Linked DNA regions of Homo sapiens: region 2 is linked to region 1. Evidence: promoter capture Hi-C in human tissues and cell types (Jung and others, 2019). All regions are on one chromosome and are shown on one strand. Each heading gives the region's core, a stretch centred on a gene start or on the middle of the fragment in contact. The rest is flanking DNA. Distances are from core to core; before and after follow the strand shown.

Region 1 (6,198 bases), core at 3,303-5,802:
TAGCTGGGGTTACAGGTGCACGTCACCACATCCAGCTAATTTTTGTATTTTTAGTAGAGACAGGTTTTCACTATGTTGGTCAGGCGGGTCTCAAACCCCTGAACTTGTGATCCGCCCACCTCAGCCTCCCAGAGTGCTGGGATTATCGGCGTGAGCCACCACATTCAGCCTTTCCCCTCTTTCTTTTGCCGAATTATTTGAAAGTAGGTGCAAATTTCATGCTGTTTTATTCCTAGATACTACAGCATGCTAATAATAAGGCATTCTCCTGAACAGCCATAATGTCTTTTTTTTTTTTTTTTTTTTTTTTTTTTTTTTGAGACAGAGTCTTGCTCTGTTTCCCAGGCTGGAGTGCAATGGTGCGATCTCCACTCACTGCAAGCTCTGCCTCCCAGGTTCACACCATTCTCCTGCCTCAGCCTCCTGAGTAGCTGGGACTACAGGCGCCCGCCACCACGCCTGGCTAATTTTTTGTATTTTTAGTAGAGACGGGGTTTCACCGTGTTAGCCAGGATGGTCTCCATCTCCTGACCTCGTGATGCACCCACCTCGGCCTCCCAAAGTGCTGGGATTACAGGTGTGAGCCACCACGCCCTGCCCATAATGTCATTTTCAAACTAAGAAAATTAACAGTTCTCCAACATGATCCAGTAATCAGCCCATGTTCAAGTTTCCCCATCTGATTTTTTTTTTTTTTTTTTTTTGAGACGGAGTCTCGCTCTGTCACCCAGGCTGGAGTGCAGTGGCACGATCTCGGCTCACTGCAAGCTCCACCTCCTGGGTTCAAGCCATTCTCCTGCCTCAGCCTCCCGAATAGCCGGGACTACAGGTGCCCGCCACCATGCCCGGCTAATTTTTTGTATTTTTAGTAGAGACAGTGTTTCACCATGTTAGCCTGAATGGTCTCAATCTCCTGACTTCGTGATCGGCCTGCCTCGGCCTCCCAAAGTGCTGGGATTACAGGTGTGAGCCACCATGTCCGGCCCCCATTTGATATTTAAAACAAAAGTTTTTATCTTTTTTCTTTCAATTTAAGACCCAGGAAGATTCACATTTTGTATTTGATGTGTGTCTTCAGTGGGCCTTTTGTTTTATTTTTCATGACATCAACTTGTTTTGTTCAATGTTAAATTAAATCTAACACTGATTAAATTAGTGCTGCGATGATTACATTAGTAGGCACTTGATGAGGTTATCCCTTTTATTGCTGATGTCAATTTAATCACTTGTTCAAGGTGCTAACTATCAGATTAAGCACACTCATCCCTTGGTATTGTGGGGCATTGGCTCCAAGAGCCCCAGAGGAAACCAAAATCCATGCATCCGCAAGTCCCATAAAATCTTGTCATATTTGCATGTAATCTACTCACATCCTCCAATATACTTATTTATTATTATTTTTTTAGTAGAGACAAGTGTCTTACCATGTTGTTCAAGCTGGTCTCCAACTCCTAGGCTCAAGTGATCCTCCTGCCTGGGCCTACCAAAGTGCTGGGATTACAGCCTGGCCAAAACTAGGGTCCATATACCTTTTTTTTTGGTGTTTTTTTTTTTTTTTCCCCCTGAGGCAGTCTTGCTATGTCACCCATGCTGGAGTGCAGTGGCACAATCTCACTGCAGCATCAAGCTCCTCAACCTCCTGGGTTCAAGCTATCCTCCCACCTCAGCCTCCCGAGTAGCTGGGACTGTAGGGTCACACCAGCACACCCAGCTAATTTTTGTATTTTTTGCAGAGATGGGGTTTTGCCATGTTGCCTAGGCTGGTCTCAAACTCGTGAGCTCAAGCCATCTGCCCACCTCAGCCTCCCAAAGTGCTGGGATTACTGGCCTGAGCCACCATGGTTGGCCATAGAGCTTTTTTTATCCCCTGATTTCCTGTCCGTGTCATTATGTTTTCCTTTTTCACTCAGAACCATGATTTCCTGACTGCAATGGTCTGTGAACATTTTTCCCCTTACAATAAATATAATACATACTCACCAGATAAAAATGTAAATACTGATGAGGAAAAATTGTAACTAACATTTTCGGGGCTCTTGTGGGTTAGGGACTTTATACTAACTCATTGAAGACAGACAGTAGCCTGAGAGAAGGTAGGGTTTGGGTTATCCTCATTTTGCCGGTGAGGAAAATGAAGCTTGAAGTTAGACTAACTTAGAGTCTTAAGCTAATAAATGGCAGAGTTGGTTTTCAAACCAGAAATAACTTGTTTATAGTACCCTTCCAAAGCCTTTTCTATACACAAATATATATAAGAATGGGATCATATTGTGACCATCTTTCCATGTCAATAAATGGACTTCAACAGCATTCTTTTTAATCCAGTGTCCTTTTGTTTCCTCTTCTCCCGGCCTTGTCCCCAGGATCGACGAGAACGTGCTAGGAGCCCAGCTGGACGTTGAGGCCGCCCATTCAGAGATCCTCAAGTACTTCCAGTCTGTCACCTCCAACCGGTGGCTCATGGTCAAAATCTTCCTCATCCTCATTGTCTTCTTCATCATCTTTGTGGTCTTCCTTGCTTGAACCCTCTCTACTCTGAGGCACTCTGTTGGGGTTTGGGACCCTCCTGGGAAGGCAAGTGGCCAGTGCTGCCACTGAGCCTGTGCAGGGTACTTGGGAGAAAGGCCCTGTTTCCCTGGAACTGCTAAGAATGACCACTGCCCCTGATCCCCCACCCCTTGCCTCTGGCCACCCTGTCCTCCCCCCACCACCCTCAGGCCTATGAAACACACAGGGTTCTAGATTTGAACTCTGCTGTGAAGTGACTGGAAGGGAGCAGAGGCCAGCTGGGGGCCAGTGGGGGAGGTTGTTTCCACTAGGAGATTTTTATAAACCCTCTCCAGCCTCTCCCAAAGGAAGCGTTGGCAGCAAAGGGAGATGATGCCCTTACCCACCTTCCTGTGAGTGAAGAGAGGAAGCAGCCCCAGGGACCAATTTTCCCAATTGACCTCTTTCTTCCTCTTTCACCATGTGAGGCAGGGAGCCCTGAGCCCTTCAGCTGCCTGCACAACCCCTGACATTGGCTGCTGGTGACTCAATCTGCCAAATGTGCTGCAGCTCGTTTTCTCCCAATTACAGCAAGACTGTCAGCCTCACTAGCCATGTCATCATTTCTGGGTGGGAGCGTCGAAGGGCCTAGGCAGCGAGTGGAGAGAGCCCACTGCCCAGTACCAGAACTGAAAGGGTTGGGCTAATGGCTCTGCCAGGTATCACTGCTGACACAGGCTATTTTGGGCTCTGACACACAGCTGCCTCTAGGCAGGGGAGAACCAAGTGTTGCAACACTTCATTAGCGTGGAAACTTCCTTTCACACAGGGGAGCAGGATCCCAGAGGGGGTCCCTGATTGGGGGCAACTTCCAGGACTATCTCAAGCAGTGTTTGGACCTGTTTCATCTGTATCCTCCAACTATTTGGCCGTAATTCTTCCTTGAGCTAAGCGAGGCAGAAGCTCTGCCTGCTTCCAGGAGTGGAAGGTGAAGAATTTGTTCCCAACTCCAGTTGAGGCTTTTGATTCCCTCCAAGCACTTCACCAAATCAAAGCCAGTCACAGAGAATGGAGACACCTGCCCAGAATACCCACCGTCCAGGGAGATTAGTGTGCTTTGTTCTTCCTGACCGAGACTCACAACCACATTCTGAGGTCACTCGAGTGCCCCTGTCTCATACATTCCAAAGGAAGTTGAAGCTATAGAGACAACAGTCAGGGGCTGGTGGTGGTGCTTTTGGGGGTCTAGGAGAGCCCAAGGCCCTGATATTTTAAAATGTCCTCCTCGGCATCTCCAGCAAGTTGCCACTGCTGGTGAGCTTCACTGTCTGCCCCGTTGACACGATGGGTTTCTAGTAGGGGACGCCATTGATGGAAGGTCTGTGAAGACAATGCTCGCCAAACCCCTGACAGATGTCGTATCATTTGACTCAGCAACTCAGGGCGGGGCGGGGTGGGGGAAATTCATAACACAAATTCATTTATTTCACAAATATATGTTGAGTTTTTACCATGTGCCAGGCATAGTACCTGCCGAGTCAAGCCCTCGAGGAAAAAAAGCCCTTAATTAGTCAACGTTCGAGCTCACATTCTAATTCTCAACTTCGTGATTTGTTAATCCATCTTATAGGCGAAGAAAGCGAGGTATAGACAAGGAGCCGAGCTGAAACACTGGCTAGATTCCGGTAGGGGTCTGAGCCATCACTCCCACCTGGAGGCGCGGTCTCCATTCCTCTGAAGCCCTTTGTGCGGCCCCCTTCCTCACTGAGTTCTGGGCTGCGGCGGCAGCACTGTGCTCTAGCACTAACTCTGAAGCTGCCAGGGCAGCGTCAGCGGACAGATGAAAAGGTGCGGGGACATGCTGGCTGCCAGCCGGGGTTCCGCAAGTTCAGGTCTTGGGCGGGGCGTGGAGGGCCAGGCCCCGCCCCTCGAACGACGGCCTTAAGTGTGCGCACGCGCAGGGGGCCGCGCTTTCTCCGGGCGGCGGCACCGCCCACAGCCTGGGACGTCAGCGGCGCGCGACGTGCTTTGCTGTATAAATGCGGTGGCGCCCGGCGTAGGGACACTTCGGTCCTGAGCGCTTGGGAGTTAGGTTGTTTGCCGGCGTAGCGGCCAGCGCCTGAGCCCGCCCTTGATCTTCGCTGTGGCATGGCGGACGAGGGGAAGTCGTACAGCGGTAAGTGCTGGTCTTCGGGTCGGGAACTGGCTATCTGGGGCGCGGGTGGGCGGCGCCGGCCTAGGCCTCAGCCCCCGGGGCGTGAGGCCGCTAGGGGCCCGGCGTCCGCGGGGAGCGGCGCGCGGGGGGCCGGGCACTCGAGGTGGACACCCGAGTTGTTGACTCCTGGATTCCTGCTGGCATCCTGGTGTTGGGGGACCTGCGGCTCGGAGCGGATGGCTCGGGGGTAGGGTGACGGGATTCCTTTGAACTTTGTGGGTGGTTGATGCCTGTCAGTTAGGTTTGGCGGCCTGACTCTTCCTTTAATGTGAGTGAGTGCCCTGCTCGTGGGCTGCCCTGATGCCCTATTTTTTACTGCGTCCAGTCGGTCTTGAACTCTCGGGCCTGGGCTTTGGCTTAATATTCGAGACTTACACATCAACTGGATATTCTAGTCTGAACACTACACTGGGTGTTAGTTCTTTGTAGTAAGTTAGGAGTGCGTGGTGGAGGTTGAAACCGTGAATTTAAAACTCTCGTTTTCCACCCCCTTAATGTGGAATAACAACAGCATTTCTTAAGAGTGTGTGTGGGGAGGGGAAATGAGATCATTCCTATCAAGTGCCTGAAGCATAGTGGCCGGCACTGGAGAAAGTTCTCAGTGAATGTTAGCTGCGCCTTCTATGTTCTTTTTTCCTAGGGTCATTTGTTGAGATTCATTGTTTACAGAGTGCTGGGTATTAGGCAGACCTCTTTTGGGAGTTAGGGACCTTTTTTAAGACGCCAGTCCTACACAGCATGAATCAGAAGGTCATCTTCCTGGAGAGCATTCCAGGGTCCCTGGTTAAGCACCCTAGCCTGGCACTGCCACTAGAGCCTGAGTCTAGAATTTGTCTCCTGAGTTAAAGGACATTTCTGGCCATGGAAACGAAGAGCTCCTCACAAAACTTCAAAGTGGCAGTTTGAGAACAAGGAGAATTTTTAGAGGATCCTTAAACTGGTCATATTTGTAACTGGCGTCTGCACTGTATAGACAAAGTACTGAGTGGCAGATTTCAGGTGGCTTTCAGAGGTCTGATTTGTGTTCAGTTACACTTTTGGGTCTCACATTTCTACATCCTGCTTCTCTCTAATTCCAGTTTCTACTTCATTTTTCAAAAGCCCTACACAGTTTTCCAGTAACTTTTCCCTGATGCTGCCCTCCCACAGAGAGGGTTCTTTCCTGTGGATAGGGAGCGGAGTTTGCATGGAGATGGCCTCTGTCGTTAGTATGTATCTCTTCCAATAGTTCAGAGTACTAGAAGCTATGATTGCCACACCAAACCGGACCAGTTACTTACTTCTAATTTGTGTTCCTGTTTCTAACTCTAGAACACGATGATGAACGCGTTAATTTCCCTCAAAGAAAGAAGAAAGGCCGGGGTCCCTTCCGGTGGAAATATGGTGAAGGAAACCGTAGGTCTGGAAGAGGCGGTTCTGGTATTCGGTCTTCCCGCCTTGAGGAAGATGATGGAGATGTGGCAATGAGTGATGCCCAGGATGGTCCCCGAGTACGA
Region 2 (5,967 bases), core at 1,215-3,714, 63 kb after region 1:
CACCCGGCCTTTTTTTTTTTTTTTTAGATAAGAGTTTTGCTCTTGCCCAGGCTGGAGTGCAGTTGCGCCATCTCGGCTCACCGCAACCTCCACCTCCCGGGTTCAAGCGATTCTCCTGCCTCAGTCTCCCGAGTAGCTGGAATTACAGGCGTCCGCCAACACATCCCGCTAATTCTGTATTTTCAGTACAGTCAGGGTTACACCGTGTTAGCCAGGATGGTCTCGATCTCTTGACCTTGGAATCCGCCCGCCTCAGCCTCCCAAAGTGCTGGGATTACAGGCATGAGCCACCACCCCTGGCTCCGACAATTATTTATTTATTTATTTATTTTTTGAGATGGAGTCTCGCTCTGTCACCCAGGCTGGAGTGCAGTGGCGCGATCTCGGCTCACTGCAAGCTCTGCCTCCCGGGTTCAAGCCATTCTCCTGCCTCAGCCTCCCAAGTAGCTGGGACTACAGGCGCCCCGCCACCACGCCCGGCTAATTTTTTTGTGTGTATTTTTAGTACAGACGGGGTTTCACCGTGGTCTCCATCTCCTGACCTTGTGATCCGCCCGCCTGGGCCTCCCAAAGTGCTGGGATTACAGGTGTGAGCCACCGCACCCGGCCCTGACAATAATTCTTACTCAAGTTTCTCTTTTTCCCAATGAGAATCCAATTAGAATCCAAAGTAGTGTCATGCATTTATTTGATTGATGTCTCTTAACTGTCTTTTTCTTTTTGAGACAGGGTCTCACTCTGTTGCCCAGGCTTCAGTGCAGTGGCACAATTTTAGCTCACTGCAACCTCAACCTTTTGGGCTCAAGTGATCCTCCCACCTTAGCCTCTTGAATATCTGGGATTACAGGCATGCACCCTAGTGGCAGCTAATTTTTCTATCTTTTGTAGACAGAGGGTTTTGCCATGTTGCCCACATTGGTCTCAAACTCCTGGGCTCAAAAGATCTGTCCCCTTCAGCCTCCCAAAGTTCTAGGATCATTGGCGTGCGCCACTGAACCTGGCCTTAAGTTTTACTAGGTTTCCCTTCCCTTTTTCCTTGCAATTTATTTGTTGAAGAAGCTGGGGTTGTTTTACGGGTTGAGGGTCTGGAGTTTGCTGCTTACATCCCCGTAGTTTCATTTAACATATTCCTCTGTCCAAAGGTTCCTTTAAAAATATTTATTTAGGGCCAGGCAAGGTGCTTCAAGCTGTAATCCCAGCTACTCAAGAGGTTGATGCAGGAGGATCCCTTGAGCCCAGGAGTTCAAGGCTATGATCACACCACTGCACTCCAGTCTGGGCTACAGAGCAAGACCCTGTCTCTAAAAAAAAAAAAAAAAAAAAAAAATAGGCCGGGGGTGGTGGCTCATGCCTGTAATCCTGGCACTTTGGGAGGCTGAGGTGGGCAGATCATGAGGTCAAGAGATCCAGACCATCCTGGCCAAGATGGTGAAACCCCTTCTCTACTAAAGACAAAAATTAGCTGGACATGGTGGTGGGTGCCTGTAGTCCCAGCTACTTGGGAGGCTGACACAGCAGAATCGCTTGAACCCAGGAGGCAGAGGTTGCAATGAGCCGAGATCGCACCACTGCACTCTAGCCTGGCAACAGAGTGAGACTCCGTCTCAAAAAAAAAAAAAAAAAAAAAAATACACTGGGCTCCATGGCTCACGCCTATAATCCCAGAACTTTAGGAGGCCGAGGTGGGTGGATCACCTGAAGTCAGGAGTTTGAAACCAGCCTGACCAACATGGTGAAACCCCGTATCTACTAAAAATACAAAAAGAATTTAGCCAGGCATGGTGGTGCATGCTACTTGGAAGGCTGAGGCAGAATTGCTTGAACCTGGGATGTGGAAGTTGCAGTGAGCCAAGATTGTGCCACTGCACTGCAGCCTGGGCAGCAGAGCCAGACTGTCTATATATATATATATACACACACACATATATTTCTACACACATCCATATATATTAGTACAGGTAGTGAGTGGTTTTGGCAACATTGTGAAGGTGGTGGGTATGAGTTTGGGAAACAGTGTCCCTCATGTGCCAAGGTATATAATCCTTCACATTCACCATGAATGCTTTTTCTTCATTCAAAATATTCAAATCCTCTGTGGAAACAAGGACTGATAAAGTGCGCAGCCTCTCCTTCCACAAACTTCTGAATACAGAGGTTGAGGCACTCTCTGGCTGGTTCCCTCAGGACCTTGAGGACGTCCTCAAGACCTGCATCAGACTGCCTTTGTCATTTCCCTGTTCATTAAGATTTCCATTAGGAGCTGGGCTTCTCAATAAAACACAAATGTAAGCCTGACCCTGTGCTATCTCTTAGCAGCGCTAATAAAAGGATTAGTGCAACAATTTTTTTTTTTTTTTTGAGACAGAGTCTTGCTATGTCGCCCAGGCTGGAGTGCAGTGGCGCAATCTCGGCTCACTGCAAGCTCTGCCTCCCGGGTTCATGCCATTCTCCTGCCTCAGCCTCCCGAGTAGCTGGGACTACAGGTGCCCGCCACCACGCCCGGCTAATTTTTTGTATTTTTAGCAGAGATGGGGTTTCACTGTGTTAGCTAGGATGGTCTCGATCTCCTGACCTTGTGATCCACCCGCCTCAGCCTCCCAAAGTGCTGGGATTACAGGCGTGAGCCACCGCGCCTGGCCACTGCACCAAATTTCTAAAATGCATTTTTAAATATCAGTTTTATTTTTTCCTCATTGATGCAGAAGATAGCTTACTATAACATCAAGTGTTTGAAATAAAATAAGACCACGAAACCATTGTAAAGCAAATAAAACATGCAATCATGACAATATTTTGTCAATAAACCAAGGCCTAGCAATTTAAGAAGCTTAGAAGAGGAATAAGGTATTTTACTTTTGTTTGTTCTGTCCTTGGACTTGATTGATTGATTGATTGATTGAGACGGTTTTGCTCTGGTTGACCAGGCTGGCGTGTAATGGCATGACCTTGGCTCACTGCATCCTCCACCTCCTGGGCTCAAACAATTCTCCTGCCTCAGCCTCCTGAGTAGCTGGGATTACAGGCACGTGCCACTACACCTGGCTAATTTTGTATTTTTTTTAGTAGCGATGGGGTTTCATTATGTCAGTCAGGCTGGTCTCGAACTCCTGACCTCAGGTGATCCACCCACCTTGGCCTCCCAAATTGCTGGAATTGCAGGGGTGAGCCACTGCGCCTCTCCTGTCCTTGGACTTAGGAAAAGTTTTTCTTGTAAGCTGATAGTTGTATTCTTTAAAGGTATAGGGAAGAACAAAGAGGAGTCTAGCCCATTGAGAAAGGGGGCGTTATTGATAAAGGACTAAAGTGTGTTTTTTTTTCCCTGAAATCTGTTTGCTCTGTGGTTGTATGACAGTTAATCACATGCTTATTGCCACCACTTATAAAGGTAGAGGCTGTGCTATATAGTCTCACCTATGTAGTACCCACAACATCATAGACATTATCCACCATGAAAAAACAGAAACAGAATAACAAAGGGGCTCCTGGTTGATGGAACCTCCTACTGAGCCAGGACTGCACCATACTGCAACTTGCACCCATGTCCAACACAGCTTCCAGAGAGTTCTATCAGGTGTTTAAAAGGCACTAAGCAAGAAATGCCCTTCCTCATTTTTTTTTTGTTTTGTTTTTTGAGATGGAGTTTCACTCTTGTTGCCCAGGCTGGAGTGCAGTGGCATGCAATCTCTGCTTACTGCAACCTCCGCCTCCTGCGTTTCAAGCGATTCTCCTGTCTCAGCCTCCTGAGTAGCTGGGGTTACAGAGTGCACACCACCACACCTGGTTATTTTTTTCTATTTTTAGTAGAGATGGGGTTTCACCATGTTGACCAGGCTGGTCTCAAACTCCTGACCTCAGGTGATCCAGCCTCCCAAAGTGCTGGGATTACAAGCATGAGCCACAGCGCCCAGCCTATTTCTCTTCTCTGTGAGGACCTCAGCCCTTGCAAAATATGAGATGACAGGTAAAGGACAGGTTTGTTTTTATTCTGCTCTATTATGTATGTTTCTTTTTTTTTTTTTTGAGACAGTCTCACTGCCGCAGGCTGGAGTGCAGTGGCGCAATCTCAGATCACCGCAACCTCCGGCTTCTAGGTTCAAGTGATCCTCCCGCCTCAGCCTCCCCAGCAGTTTAGTAGAGATGGGGTTTCGCCATGTTGGCCAGGCTGGTCTTGAACTCCGGACCTCAAGTGATCCACCCGCCTCAGACTCCCAATGTGTTGGGATTACAGGCATGAGCCACCGTACCCGGCTAGTATGTATGTTTTTAGAAGATGTGATAATCTTTTCTTTTTTTTGAGATGGAGTCTCTCTCTGTCACCCAGGCTGGAGTGCAGTGGCGTGATCTCGGCTCACTGCAAGCTCCACCTCCTGAGTTCACGCCATTCTCCTGCCTCAGCCTCCCGAGTAGCTGGGACTACAGGCACACGCTACCAAGCCCAGCTAATTTTTTTTTTTTGTATTTTTAGTAGAGACGGAGTTTCACCGTGTTAGCCAGGATGGTCTTTTTTTTTTTTTTTTTTTTTTTTTTTTTTTTTAAGAGAAATGAGGATACTATAGATAAGCACCTATTAAAATTTAAAATGTTCACTTAGGTGTTTTCTTTAGCATGAGGTCTGAAGGGTTTATTAAATAAATACTTAAATGCTTTACTCCAAAGGTTTTAAAATAGTTTAATGAAAAAATAAATATAGTGTATGAATGATCTAAGTATGAGAAATAGCAAGGACAAAATAGCAAATATTTTTGTAGGGGAGAAGGAATCTGAATGTGTATGGAATATTAAGGAGAATAAGAAATTAATTTAACAGGGGCTGTGGCGGGGGGTGGGAGAACATGAGGAAAAATAGCTAATACATGCTGGACTTAATACCGAGGTGATGTGTTGATAGGTGCAGCAAACCACCGAGGCACACGTTTCCCTATGTAACAAACCTGCATATCCTGCACATGGATCCTGGAACTTAAAATTAAAAGAAAAAGAAAAAATTAAACAAAATGGTTACTTTTGGCCAGGCATAGTGGCTCACACCTGTAATCCCAGCACTTTGGGAGCCCGAGTGGGTGGATCACTTGAGGCCAGGAGTTCAAGAGCACCCTGGCCAACATGGCAAAACCATGTCTCTACTAAAAAGGAAATACAAAAAAATTAGCCGGGCGTGGTGGCACATGCCTGTAATCCCAGCTGCTTGGGTGGCTCAGACACGAGAATCACTTGAACCTGGGAGGCAGAGGTTGCAGTGAGCCAAGATGGCACCACTGCACTCCAGACTGGGCAACAGAGTGAGACTCTGTCTCAAAAAACAAAAAGTTACTTTAGTATATTTGGGCTTATTTATTTATTGAGACACGTCACTCTGTCACCCAGGCTGGAGTGCTGTGTCAGGATCTTGGCTCACTGCAACCGCTGCCCTCCAGATTCAAGCAATCCTCCCACCTTAGCCTCCAGAATAGCTGGGACTACAGGTGAACACCTGGCCCAGCTAATCTTTGCATTTTTTTTTTTTTTTGAGACGGAGTCTCGCTCTGTTGCCCAGGCTGGAGTGCAGTGGCGTGATCTCTGCTCACTGCAAGCTCCACCTCCCGGGTTCATGCCATTCTCCTGCCTCAGCCTCCCGAGTAGCTGGGACTACAGGCGCCCACCACCACGCCCGGCTAATTTTTTGTATTTTTAGTAGAGACGGGGTTTCACTGTGTTAGCCAGGATGGTCTCAATCTCCTGACCTCATGATCTACCTGCCTCGGCCTCCCAAAGTGCTGGGATTACAGGCCTGACCCACCGTGCCCGGCCATCTTTGCATCTTTTATAGAGACAGGGTTTCACTGTGTTCCCCAGGCTGGTCTTGAACTCCTGGACTCAAGCTATCTATCTGTCTACCTCTGCCTTCCAAAGTGCTGGGATTACAGGCGTGAGCCACCATGCCCAGCCTGGCTCATTTATAATTGTCTAGTTTCCAGTACCTGAGACCAC

Evidence for each region. Contacts are between HindIII fragments. The study calls those that stand out against the background at their distance.
Region 2: a fragment that was not itself captured here is called in contact with the fragment with the promoter of NXF1 in region 1 in 1 of the 25 tissues and cell types used here (stomach).

The regions. Positions count from the first base shown.
Region 1 is chr11:62,803,794-62,809,991 of GRCh38, reverse strand. It overlaps NXF1 (nuclear RNA export factor 1), which reads left to right and starts at 4,552. Exons shown (of 21, transcript NM_006362.5): 1 at 4,552-4,663; 2 at 6,014-6,198. The coding sequence starts at 4,636. It overlaps STX5 (syntaxin 5), which reads left to right. Exons shown (of 11, transcript NM_003164.5): 11 at 2,364-3,132. The coding sequence ends at 2,523. RefSeq lists enhancers at 4,034-4,083, 4,104-4,293, 4,260-4,759. The HindIII fragment of the contact is 17,631 bases long and covers 1-6,198 here.
Region 2 is chr11:62,738,968-62,744,934 of GRCh38, reverse strand. No RefSeq gene overlaps it. Among named protein-coding and RNA genes, the nearest start is that of ZBTB3, 12 kb to the left of the region's middle. The HindIII fragment of the contact is 7,631 bases long and covers 1-5,967 here.